4 separate regions of the Homo sapiens genome follow, and all the other regions are linked to region 1. Evidence: promoter capture Hi-C in 16 types of primary human blood cells and fetal thymus (Javierre and others, 2016). All regions are on one chromosome and are shown on one strand. Each heading gives the region's core, a stretch centred on a gene start or on the middle of the fragment in contact. The rest is flanking DNA. Distances are from core to core; before and after follow the strand shown.

Region 1 (3,256 bases), core at 510-3,009:
AGAAAGGCAGAGAGGAGACAGATGGTAGATGAGGTGCATGCTTGCCGTATGGAGCCAGAAAAGGAAGTCATCACACATCTGAATGTGTGAATCCGAGACCAAAAAGCCTGGGTCCCTGTCAAACACTGGGTTTTTTCATGACCCTGAAGTCCCCAAATAAACCAGCCAGCTTCCCCCACTTCTCTATCAGCTATTTCAGAGACGCTACCAGTAGAATCTTACCTTCAGCCCTTATTGCCAATGCTGTTTTTGTTTATGGTAAGGAGAAAAATAACTCGTGTTTCTGTAGGGATCTGCAATAAGTGGGTAAAGCTGAGCTGTAGAATGGAGAGAATTTGAGAAGTGACCCACACCTCCACCAATAGCTGCAATGGAAGTGAGGCCTTTACCTCCTAGAATTGGAATGGTGGGGTTCAAATAAAATAATGTATGTGAACTTGTTGAGCCGAGCCCAGTCCCTTGGAGCCACATAAATGCATTTGTTCTTTCTCTATGGTAAATTTTGTCCTTTGGGGAAGGGAGGAAGAGGGAGGAAGTCACTTTCATATTGAGTTTTTTGAGACTGTCCCAGAAGCTTCATCACCTACCATTCACTCCTACCATCCTAATCCAAGGCCTGTCCCCCTATCTACTCTTGCCTTCCAGAGTTTATTCTCCATACAGCAGCCAGAGTGATCTTTTTAAAAAACACAAATAGCATCTTGTCACTTCCCTCTTTAAAACCCTTCAAATGCCCCCATCACAGAGTAGACTTAAACCCTTTGCTATGGGTTATTAGGCCCTAACGTGTGTTGCATCCTCTGACTTCATCTATCATTCTTACTGTGGCCCACTCTGCTGCAGCCACACTGACCTTTCTGTTTCCGAGCTCACCAGACTGTTCCCTCCTCAGGACTTTTATATTAGCTGTCCCCTTTGCCTAGAATACCGTCTGTTCTTGTCACTTGTCATAGAGGTCTTGTCTGATCACCCAAACTAAATGAGTGCCCCCATCATTCTATTTCATTTGCTTCAGAGCAAATGGTAATGATACCAGTTCAACTGATCTTGTCTATCATTTGTTGACTTATTTGTTCCATTACTGAATCCCTAGTGCTAAGCAGAGCCTGGCACGTAGTCGACCTCTAATATTCATTGGATAAACGATCGTTTCAAATCCTAACAACAATCTTGTGATGTCTGTGAGAAAACGGAGGTTCTGCCGGCTCAGGATGAGATTCCTGCTCTGTCTGAACGCGGGACTCGCTTTCCTTCCCAGGATACCTCGCTCCTTCCACCGCGAGCGCAGCTCCCCTTCGCTCCCATCTTTCTCTCACACTTAACCCCTTTCTCCGGGAAAGTCAGGCCGTACTTCCAGTCCCTTCTCAGAGCCTGGTGTTGTGGCTCTCAAGCCCTCCCACATTTCGGGAACTCAGAAACGCCGCCCTTTTCCTGAAATGGACCCTCCGAGTACGCGCAACCCCTTCCCTAACCCCGGCTCAGGGGCAGAAGCAGGACCCGCACCGTCTATAGTAAAATAGGGTGGTCTCCTTAGCCCATCAGCTTAGCGCCCTCACTCCGCCCCCACTCCCTGGCTGGAGACCCTCAGGGCCGTTTAGGGGCCAGGAGGAGGTTCCAGGAGTCAAGGACATTGAGGACATCCAGGCCCAAACGGGATGGGCCAACTACGCGCAGCAGAACCTTTCTCTACCGGGCCCGCGTGTGCCCGCCGGTCGGCTTAGGCGGAGACACCCCACTTAGCGTCCCTCCCGCTCCCGCCCTCTCCTCCCGGCCCTGTCTGCGAAAGCTCGTCTTCCTCCCCGCCCAAGTTCCGGCGCCGCTCTTGCGGGAGCGTTCCGCATCGCCCCGGGGGCCCCTACGCGAGGATCTCCGGGGCCGTTGGCAGCGCCTGGCACTTCTGAGCTCGGCGGACGAGAGCCTGCAGGTTTCCTCCAGTCAGGGACGGCGAAGGGCGGAAAGCGCAGGAGGAGGCAGTGTTAGGCCTTAGGCCGGGTGGGCCGGGTCAGGAGAGACGCGCCCATCTTTCGCCATCCGGGGTGCGCGAGGTCCTCTCGGGACCCGGCCGGCGACCCGTAGCTCGGGCACGCGCCTGTCGCATCCCGCAGGAAGGAGGGGTCCGGCCTGAGGCCCGGGGCGGCGTCCGCCATGGAGATCCCCTCGGTCCAGGGCCGGCGCCTGGGACCTGGCGGGCGGCCCTGACCGCCTTCCTCCCTGCGCGGGCTGGGTCGCGGACGTGCCCTTCGCGGCACTCGGCCTCCTCTGCGTCTCCGCCTTCCCTGGGCCGCACTGCTGCCTGGGCGCGGCGGCGGCGACGGCGCCCTGTTGAATGGGCTGTGAGGGCCCAGGTTTAAAGCGCTGGCGAACGCGGCCTCCGGGGGCGCACGGCAGCTGCAGCGGTGGCGACCAAACGGGTGTTGGAGTTGGCGGCGGCCATGGAGGGCCTGGCTGGCTATGTATACAAGGCGGCCAGCGAGGGCAAGGTGCTGACTCTGGCCGCCTTGCTTCTCAACCGGTCTGAAAGCGACATCCGCTATCTGCTTGGCTATGTCAGCCAGCAGGGAGGGCAGCGCTCCACGCCCCTCATCATCGCAGCCCGCAATGGACACGCAAAGGTGGTACGCTTGCTCTTAGAACATTACCGGGTGCAGACTCAGCAGACTGGCACCGTCCGCTTCGACGGGTAGGTACATCCCAAGCCAGCCTCTCTCCGACGCGCGCGGACTCGTTAATTCACGGGCCCTCCCCTCCCTCACCCTCTCTTACCCTCTCTTCATGTAGGTACTCACTTCTCCCCTTTTTGTACCACCTCCTGCCCCACTAATGCCCACTTCATCTTCCAGGGCTAATAATCCATCCCATGTTTTGCTGCCCGTCCTCATCAGCCCCTACCCCTCATTCCCTCTGTGGGAAGATAACCACACCCTCGGCCTTGAAATCTAATAGTCGTCTTCTCTACTAGATAGTCTGTGAACAAGCCATTTGGAGGAGGTGGCTGCCTTTCCAGGTTTTACTTTTAGTGGAACTGGTGATGTAACTGATCAGAAATTAAGGAGGTCAGCGGTTAACATTGAAGAACTCCGAAAGAGTTATTTGGGCATCCATTTTTACTCCCTTCAAGTGAGTGGTTCCGTAAAACCTTCAGTGGGCTGCTGGGCTTTAATGTCAAAATAAGCACCTAGAACCAGCAGCAGCTGCAGCATCATGAGGGATTGTCACGCAGCCAGACATCTCAAGACATGATTCTGATTCCTCCACG
Region 2 (3,069 bases), core at 17-2,516, 400 kb before region 1:
GAGTTCTCTATAACTCTTATGAGTCGATTTCCCATTACTCAAATCTCCTGTTATTTCTTTATGTTAAACTTTACCTGTTTTCCATTTCTTGATTGGACAGTGATACCAAATTCTATCCAGAATATATACAGAAACCTCCCAACTCAATAATAAATAAAAACACTGACTTAAAATTGAACAAAAGATTTAGAGCTGTTTACCAAATAAGATATAAAACAAACACTAACTTAAAAATAAGATATAAAACAAAAGATTTAAAGCTACTTCGCCAAATAAGATATAAGCACATAAAAAGATTCTCAACATAATTAGTCAATAGAGAATTGCATATTAAAACCACAATGAGATACCATTAACATCACAAAATGCTCAAATTTTAAAATCTTGACAATACAAGCTGAGGATGTAGAGCAACTGAAGCTCTTATTTCTTTTTCTTTTTACCTTTCCTTTTTTCTTCCCTGGGATGGATCCTGAGCAACTAGAACACTTATATATTGCTGATGGAAATGCAAAATGGGACATTGGTTTGGCAATTTCCGATAAAGTTAAATATATACTGATGTATATATCTCATTGTTTTAATATGCAATTCCTTAATGACAAATAATGTTGAGCATTTTGTTGTTGTTGTTGTTGTTGCTGTTTGACAGAGTCTTGCTCTGTTGCCCAGGTTAGTGCACTGGTGCAATCACAGCTCACTGCAGCCTCGATCTCCCAGGCTCAAGTGATCCTCCTGCCTCAGCCTCTCAAGTAACTGGGACTACAAGAGTTTGCTACCACACCAGCTAATTCTTAACTTTTTTGTAGAGACGGGGACTCGCTCTGTTGCCCAGGTGGGTCTCAAACTCCTGGGCTCAAGTGATCCTCCTCGGCCTCCCAAAGTGCTGAGATTACAGACGTGAGCCAACCCCACCCAGACATTTTTAAATGCTTATTTGCCATCTGTTTATCTTATTTGTTGAGATATCTGTTCAGATGATCCATTTTAAAATTGGTTTCTTTGTTTTTGTTGAGTTTTAAGAGTTCATTGTATGTTTTGGATACAAGTACTTTATCAGATACATGTTTTATAAATAATTTCTCTGGTCTGTGACTTTTTCATTCTCTTAACAGTGTCTTGTGCAGAGCAGAAGTTATTAATTTTAATAAAGTTTGACATCAATTTTTCTTTCATGAATCATGCTTTTGGTGTTGTATCTGAAAATTCATAGCCAAATCCAAAGTCATCTAGTCTTTCTCCTTTCTTCTTCTAGAAGTTTTATAGCTCTGCATTTTATATTAAGGCCTATGACCCATTTTGAATTAATTTTTGTGAAAGGTCTAAAGTTTGTTTCTGGATCCTTTTTTTTTTTTTTTTTTTTTTTTGCATATGGTGATTCCAGAGCAATTTGTTGAAAAGATTAACCTTTTCCTATTGAATTGCCTTTGCTCCTTTGTCAAAGATTGGTTGGCTATTACTGAATGTAAATTATACCTTAATAAATTAACATAAGAAATACATATTTTCCAAAAATACAAAAACATTTACTGTAAACATAGTAAAGTGGTTGCCAAGGTATATGAGAGAGTGTGTAATATGAATATAAAAGAGAATGGGCTGGGCTCACGCCTGTAATCTCAGTACTTTGGGAGGCCGAGGCGTCGAATCACCTGAGGTCAGGAGTTCGAGACTATCCTGGCCAACATGGTGAAATCCTGTCTCTACTAAAAATACAAAAATTAGCTGGGCATGGTGGCACATGCCTGTAGTCCCAGCTACTCGGGAGGCTGAGGCAGGAGAATCGCTTGAACCCAGGAGGCAGAGTTTGCAGAGAGCTGAGATCACACCACTTCACTCCAGCCTGGGTGACAGAATGAGACTCCATCTCAAAAAAAAAAAAAAAAAAGAATGAATACATGGATGGAAACAAGTGAGGGGCCTTGCACGCAATTATAATTTTTTTTTTTTTTTTTTTTTTTGAGACGGAGTCTCGCTCGTCACCCAGGCTGGAGTGCAGTGGCGCAATCTCGGTTCACTGCAAGCTCTGCCTCCCAGATTCACGCCATTCTCCTGCCTCAGCCTTCCAAGTAGCTGGGACTACAGGCGCCCGCCACCACGCGTGGCTAATTTTTTGTATTTTTAGTAGAGACGGGGTTTCACTGTGTTAGCCAGGATGATCTCGATCTCCTGACCTCACCTCATGATCTGCCCGCCTCGGCCTCCCAAAGTGCTGGGATTACAGGCGTGAGCCACTGCGCCCGGCCGTCTTTATTCTTAATCTAATCGGGCAACATGTAACCTAACGAAAATATCAGTGTTCCTCTAGGATACATATTTCTTTGTAGCTGTACCTTAGCAATCCATCTCCATGTGGGATAGTATAATTTTTTGTTTCTTTGCTTGTTTTGCTTGGGAGCAGTATGGTAAACATCTTGGACTTAGAGCAGAATAAATATGTAATTTATCACACATACTGTTACTCAGAAGTCCAGATTTGGTCTTCTTTAGTGTCCATTTTGAATTGCAGCTGATTCTATTACTAGTTTTATTAGAATTTGTTGATGATGTGCTGATTTTCTTTTGTTTATCGGCCCTTTTCACCCCAGCAACTTACATGGTGAATGACATTCATACACAAGGCACATTCTCCTGGCCATAACCATTTTTTTGTGGAATATTAAACATTTTATGGAGAAGTAAGGTGAATAGCCCCTCAGATTTTTTTTGGCATGAGATTTATCAAAGCATTTTATAAACATATTAGTGGTGTAAAATCAGCCCTTTAAAGAACTTTTAAAAGCTCTGTCATTTTATAAGAAAAAGTACACAAATATAACCAATCTAATTTTTTAAAACATAAAGCTTTATTTAAATTAAAATTTTTTAAACAAGTTTAACATTTTTCCATGTCTTTCTAATACAATAGATAACATCAGGAAAGGAACAAGTATGCACTGTTGCAGAATAAACATGAATTAATCTTATTTTACTATTTAAAACGATAACAGAATTTATGTATATATATCAATATGACTATGATTATGAGAAATAGCACTTAACCATCAGTTTCTCTCCTTTTGATTTGGT
Region 3 (2,895 bases), core at 223-2,722, 420 kb before region 1:
TTGCTCCCGCCTCCCTGTTCTTCCCACTCAGATGCCTATATTTAGTGCTGATTTTCTTCTGCCTTGTTTAGAGTTAGTTGTTTACTTGTTTGCTTCCCCTGCCACCTCCCAGACCATGAACCCAGCTGTGAGGGGCCAGACTTTATTCATTGCTGTACTCCCAGTGAAGTGGCACCATTCGCCTGGGGGGATACCTGAGGTTCATTGTCTCATGCCAGGGAAATCAAGGACATGGACACACAAGGAGTGAGGTTGAGAGCGGAGGTTTAATAGAAGGAGGCCAGGCATGGTGGCTCACACTTGTAATCCTAGCACTTTGGGAAGCCAAGGTGGGTGGATCACGAAGTCAAAAAGATCGAAACCATCCTGGCCAACATGATGAAATCCCGTCTCTACTAAAAATACAAAAATTAGCTGGGTGTGGTGGTGCACGACTGTAGTGCCAGCTACAGGCTGAGGCAGGAGAATCACTTGAACACGGGAGGTGGAGGTTGTAGTGAGCTGAGATCACACGACTGCACTTCAGTCTGGTGACAAAGTGAGACTCCATCTCAAAAAAAAAAAAAAAAAAAGGCGAAAGAAAGAGAAAACCTTTCTCCTACAAGGAGAGGGGTCCTGAGCAGGTTTCCAGTCCACAGTGAAATGCAGGGTTTTATAGATGAGCTTGAGAAGGTAGCGTCTGATTTACATAGAGCACGAAAGAGTGCTTGGACCAGGTGTGCCATTTGCATAAGGCATGAAAAAGTGGTTAGGACTAGGTATGCTATTTGCATAGTGTGTAAAAGTCTGGCCACCCCCACCCTAATCTTTTATTATGCAGATGAGCTTTCTACCTGGCTGGCACCATGTTGCCTGTTCCTTTACTGTACACATGGTGACAAAAGGGAAGTTGAAGCCTCCATATTGAACATACCTGGCCCTCAGGTAACCCTTTTCTATTGGCACAGGTGCTGGCATTCGCCCGTGCAAGCTTCCAGCTTGCTTATCTGTTTGCAGCTCGATTTTTCAGGCTGCTCTTTGTTAGAAAAGCAATGATTTTGGGCTGCTTTTTGTTGAAAGGGAATTTCTGCCGAGGACTCTTACCCTCACGATCTGCCTGAATAATTTCTTTCTGTCTCCTGTATCACCAGCACCTGGCACAGCACCTGAATTTTAAATCTTATTTATTTATTTATTTATTTATAGAGACAAGTTCTTGCTCTGTCGCCTAGGCGACACTATAACATCAACCTCCTGGCCTCAAGTGATCCTCCCACTTTGGCCTCCCAAAGTGTTGGGATTATAGGTGTGAGCCACCACACCTGGCCTTAATAGACACATTTTTTTCTTTAAAGCTTCTGTTACAAAGGACAGATAAGAGGATTTCAAGAGTTAAGATGACCACAGATCAAACTTCCTTGATGTGCCATCTTCCAACTTAAATTCGAAAGCTACTTGAGACACAGAAAAAGACAAAAACTGAGAACCATTCAGAAAACTTAGTGGTCAGTTGTTGGCCAGAGTCCAAGATGGAAATTTCCCTAATAACCTGCCACTGGGGCTGGGGGAAGTCACATGGTAGGTGGCCTGTGCATACTTTGCCCTCTAAAGTGGCCCAGAACCTGCAGACAGGAAGCTTGCAGGGAGAAGCTTAGGCCCTCATTCACTGTACAGGGCTGCACTCACCAGCAAATGGGCAGCACACTCCTAACACTCAAGTATGGTTTTCTGAGGCAGTCACTTCTGTCCACCCTCACCCCTTCCGTTAGACTGTCTCTGCCTGTGTCTGTGGGGACACTGTGGCACTCAGTACCTCTGAGCAGGGAGCAGGGCAGGACTGATGAGGAGGTGGCCTAAAAGGCACGCTCGCCTAATGCAGGGACCCTACAGATGGAAAGAGTGCGGTTTTATTTCAAAATATCTGATACACAGTAATATAGATACCTTGTAGTACTTAAATCGTATTAACCCAGTTTGAAGGTCTTTGGCTTTTAGTATCATGCGTTTATTTTTATGTTGGCATGTTTGGTTTTATTTCTTTTATTTTGGTTTATGCCTTCTCTTTTTCATGTTTGTTTTTGTTTTTGCCTTCTATGATAAGCAAAATTGCATGATGATGTATTTTTTATTTATTTATTTTTTTTTTGAGATGGAGTCTAGCTCTGTTGCTCAGGCTGGAGTGCAGTAGCACAATCTCGGCTCACTGCAACCTCCACCTCCCGGGTTCAAGCGATTCTCCTGCCTTAGCCTCCCAAGTAGCTGGGATTACAGGCGCCCACCACCATGCCCAGCTAATTTTTGTATTTTTAGTAGAGACAGGGTTTCACTGTGTTGGCCAGGGTGGTCTCGAACTCCTGACCTGATGATCCGCCCACCTCGGCCTCCCAAAGTGCTGGGATTACAAGCGTGAGCCACCGCGCCTGGCCCTTTTTTTTTTTTTTTTTTAAGACAGAATCTCGCTATGTTGCCCAGGCTGGAGTGCAGTGGCGCGATCTCAGCTCACTGCAACCTCCGCCTCCTGGATTCAAGTGATTCTCCTGCCTCAGCCTCCTAAGTAGCTGGGATTACAGGCGCCTGCCACCGCGCCCTGCAATTTTTGTATTTTTAGTAGAGACAGGGTTTCACCATCTTGGCCAGGCTGGTCTTGAACTCCTGACCTTGTGATCCACCTGCCTCAGCCTCCCAAAGTGCTGGGATTACAGGCATGAGCCACCGTGCCCAGCCGATGATGTATTTTTTTAGAGTCATGGTCTCGCTATGTTGCCAGGCTGGACTTGAACTCCTGGTCTCAAATGATTCTCCAGTCTCAGCTTCCTGAGTAGCTAGGAGTACAGGTGCACCATTGTACCTGGCTGATGATTTGTTTTTATCTTCTGTAATTTGAAAAGTATATAGCTATATAGCCTATTGTTTTAA
Region 4 (3,082 bases), core at 189-2,688, 390 kb after region 1:
TTAACTTTTTTTCCCCCAGGTATCTATCCAGTTGAAATAATTCCAGGTAATGAGTAATCCTTTCTTTCCCCTACTGATTTGAGATTCAGGCTTTGCTGCATTCTACATTTCTGAATGTATTTGGGTTTATTTTACAGACTGTCCATTATTTTCTACTTAATAGTCTTGTTATTCATGTACCAGTACCACAATGCTGTGTTACTAAGACTTCATAATATGTTTTAATATCAACAGGGATAGTCACCACTCATTGTGGTCTTTTCTCAAACGTAGTTGGCTCTTCTAGCTTATATATTTTAATATATAATTTTAGGATCTGCTTATATAGATAGAAAATATTGATATTTTATTGGGATTATGTTAAATTGATAAATTAAAGAGAATGTCAACCTTATGATGTTGAGTCTAAATATCCATGATCATAGTTTACTTTTTGTAGTCCTTTGTGTCCTTTTGTGGTGTATTAAAAGCTTCTTCACATAGCTCTTATTCATTTCTTGTTACACGTATTTACCTTTTTTATTGTATTATATATCCTTTTAAAATTATATTTGCTAATTGATGATTGTATACTAGAAAGCCATAAGTTTCTGTATGTTAATATTTTGCCATGTTACTAAATTCACAAATAGCTTATACTAATTTTCAGTGGTTTCTCTTGAGGTTTCTAGGGATACTATTTTATCATTTGCAAGTAGTGATAATTCTCCTCTTCATTTATAGCTTTTATACCTCTGGTATATCTTTCTTTTTTTAATTGCATTGGCAGGTCCTACAGGAAAATGTTAAATCATAGCAACCTCTTGTTCCTAACTTTGATGGCAATGCATCAGGTATTTACCTTTTACATATTTTGGGTTGAGAAATATTTTCCCCCCAGCATTTTATTATTAAACTTTCAAACATACTGCAAAGTTTAAATCATTTAGCAGTGAACACCACCTAGATTAATGGTATTAACAGCTTGCTGTACTTCTCAAAGCTGAGTGTCCTATTTGTTTGAGGTAGAGAAGAGGCTCGAACAGATAATTCTTTGGGAACATTCTGGGTAGCGGACATAAAACCTGGCACATGGCAAGTCAACAGATGATGCTCAGATATGCAAATACTGAAAGTGAGGCCCCAGGCAGCTAGTTCCCTTTCCAAGGTGTCACGAGGTGTCAGAAGTAGGGAAGAGCCCAGATTTAGGACATAAGGTGGGTAGGGTGATTCTCAGATGAGAGGAGGCAAAGGATGAAGGCCTCCCCCAGTCCCCAGTGTTCTGAACTCCACAGGACCCAGGGAGTGGGTGAGTGGCCTTCCAGGACACCATTCTTTCCTGACAGCTGGCGGGAATTTCCTTTCTCTTTCTTTCTGTCTACTACTCCTTCCCTGCTGGCTCCTCCTGGCAGAGCCCCAGACAAAGAAAGAGAAGTGGCCTGAGCAGGTGCTTCCCTCCTCCCCTGAATGAGCTCTTCCTGGAGAGCGAGGGTGGAGAAAGCAGGGCGGCTGTGGGCACTGGGGGTTGGGGTGTTGTGTTGGGGGATGGGCAGGGAAGGGGCCAAGGGAGTTTTGTGCCTCTCTAAGCCCATGTGCTGGACAGGGCCTTGATGTTGTCCTTTCTTATCTACACTATTGCAATCACTGCACTGAGTCCCCAAAAATGATAAAAATACACGGTTTTGTAGTCAGGCAGATTTGGGTTCAGCGAGATCAGCGTGTTCAGGGTGGTATGGCCGTAGACCAGCCAAATCTAGGCATTGCCAGAAACCTGCCGCATGCCCTTGGGTGAGATTTGGCTCTGGGCTCCTTCCTGGGCAGTGAGAGGATCTGTGGCTCAGCTGCAGCACAGGTGAGGAGCAAAGAAGACCCTCGACAAACAGGCCCTAGGCTTCCCTCTCCCCAGGCTCCCCGCTCCTGATCTCCCTTCACTCTCATGCTCCCCCACCCCTACTCTAAAAACCCCTAAGGCCTCCCTTTCTGGATGAAGTCCTGCCCCACCCTGGCTCCATGGCTTGGCCCACTCTGCCCCTTCCTGACTCACCTGCCCTCACCAGACCTTGAGCCAGCCCCGGTCTCTTCTACCTGCCTGCCCTTCTTCATGCTCCTCTCTGCACAGCTCAGGGCACCGCCTCCAGGAAGCCACCTGGAGCCATCCTGCTTCTTCCTCTGCTTTGCCAACAGACTCTCCGCTTCCTGCCATGTCCTTGCCATGTTTGAGGCAGGGGTATCGTGGTCTGTTTTCACACCTGTTCCTGCTTCTAGGCGATGGGCTCCTTGAGGCTGGGAAACACACCCATTCGTTTTTCCATTCCCAACAGCCAGAGTTCAGCCCAAATACTGGACAGGGATCTTTTCGGACAGAGAAATCTTTTGAGGCCCAGGGTGCAGATGAGTCTTGGCCAAAGCCCCACATCTGCCTGATGGCAAAGCTTTGGATTTAAAACCCTGCGTGAGGAGTGGGACGGGTGAGGCCCTGTGGATAAGCCAGGTTTGCACTGGGCCTCTCTATTCACTACCTCCCCCTTCTCAGCCTCAGTTTCCCCATCTGTGAGATGGGAGAGTGCACTGAAGATGGGCGGGGGGATGTGGAGGAATGCTGAAAGAGCTAGTTCTATGTTTTAGTGGAGGGAGTTGCTGGAAAGGAAAGAGACTTCAGACCAGTTACTTCCATCTCTGGAAATAGAATATGGGGCAGTGAAGACCATGGGCTTCGGGACCTGTAGTCCTGACCCAGCCATTTGCTAGATGAGTTATTACTCCCGAAAGCCTTGGATTTCTTATTTGTAAACGAGAGATAATAAATCCCACCTGGCAGGGTTGTCATGATGACAGTAATCACCCACACCTGTTGAACACGTACAACGGGCCAGGGACTGTTCTAAGCTCTTGAGACGCCTGGTGCCACTGAATACTCAGCAACCTTGCAGATGAGGAAACAGGTATAGCTTATACAAAGTCGCACAGCTGGGAAGTGCTGGAACTGGAATAAAATAGAGTGATGCTGGCTAAGAGTTTAGCACCATGCCTGACACACAGTGAGCCTCGGTCAGCGAGAGGGCCTAGGTCATCTGCCCCACAACGTGTTCACACTTGCAACCTG

Evidence for each region. The method cuts DNA at HindIII sites, captures the fragments that hold promoters and counts their contacts. A CHiCAGO score of 5 or more calls a contact.
Region 2: a contact is called between a fragment that was not itself captured here and the fragment with the promoter of FEM1B in region 1, in 1 of 17 cell types (neutrophils). The highest score is 6.7, in neutrophils.
Region 3: a contact is called between a fragment that was not itself captured here and the fragment with the promoter of FEM1B in region 1, in 1 of 17 cell types (neutrophils). The highest score is 5.0, in neutrophils.
Region 4: a contact is called between a fragment that was not itself captured here and the fragment with the promoter of FEM1B in region 1, in 1 of 17 cell types (endothelial precursors). The highest score is 5.5, in endothelial precursors.

Annotation. Positions count from the first base shown.
Region 1 is chr15:68,275,986-68,279,241 of GRCh38, forward strand. It overlaps FEM1B (fem-1 homolog B), which reads left to right and starts at 1,760. Exons shown (of 2, transcript NM_015322.5): 1 at 1,760-2,680. The coding sequence starts at 2,433. RefSeq lists enhancers at 1,756-2,657, 2,400-2,599 and a silencer at 2,040-2,369. The HindIII fragment of the contact is 2,784 bases long and covers 573-3,256 here.
Region 2 is chr15:67,874,068-67,877,136 of GRCh38, forward strand. No RefSeq gene overlaps it. Among named protein-coding and RNA genes, the nearest start is that of RNU6-1, 36 kb to the left of the region's middle. The HindIII fragment of the contact is 3,151 bases long and covers 1-2,842 here.
Region 3 is chr15:67,852,922-67,855,816 of GRCh38, forward strand. No RefSeq gene overlaps it. Among named protein-coding and RNA genes, the nearest start is that of RNU6-1, 14 kb to the left of the region's middle. RefSeq lists enhancers at 1-475, 476-1,031. The HindIII fragment of the contact is 281 bases long and covers 1,333-1,613 here.
Region 4 is chr15:68,665,177-68,668,258 of GRCh38, forward strand. All of the region lies in intron 2 of CORO2B (coronin 2B), which reads left to right. It overlaps LOC124903514 (a long non-coding RNA gene), which reads left to right. Exons shown (of 2, transcript XR_007064691.1): 2 at 1-482. Among named protein-coding and RNA genes, the nearest start is that of CORO2B, 88 kb to the left of the region's middle. RefSeq lists a silencer at 1,254-1,548. The HindIII fragment of the contact is 1,941 bases long and covers 469-2,409 here.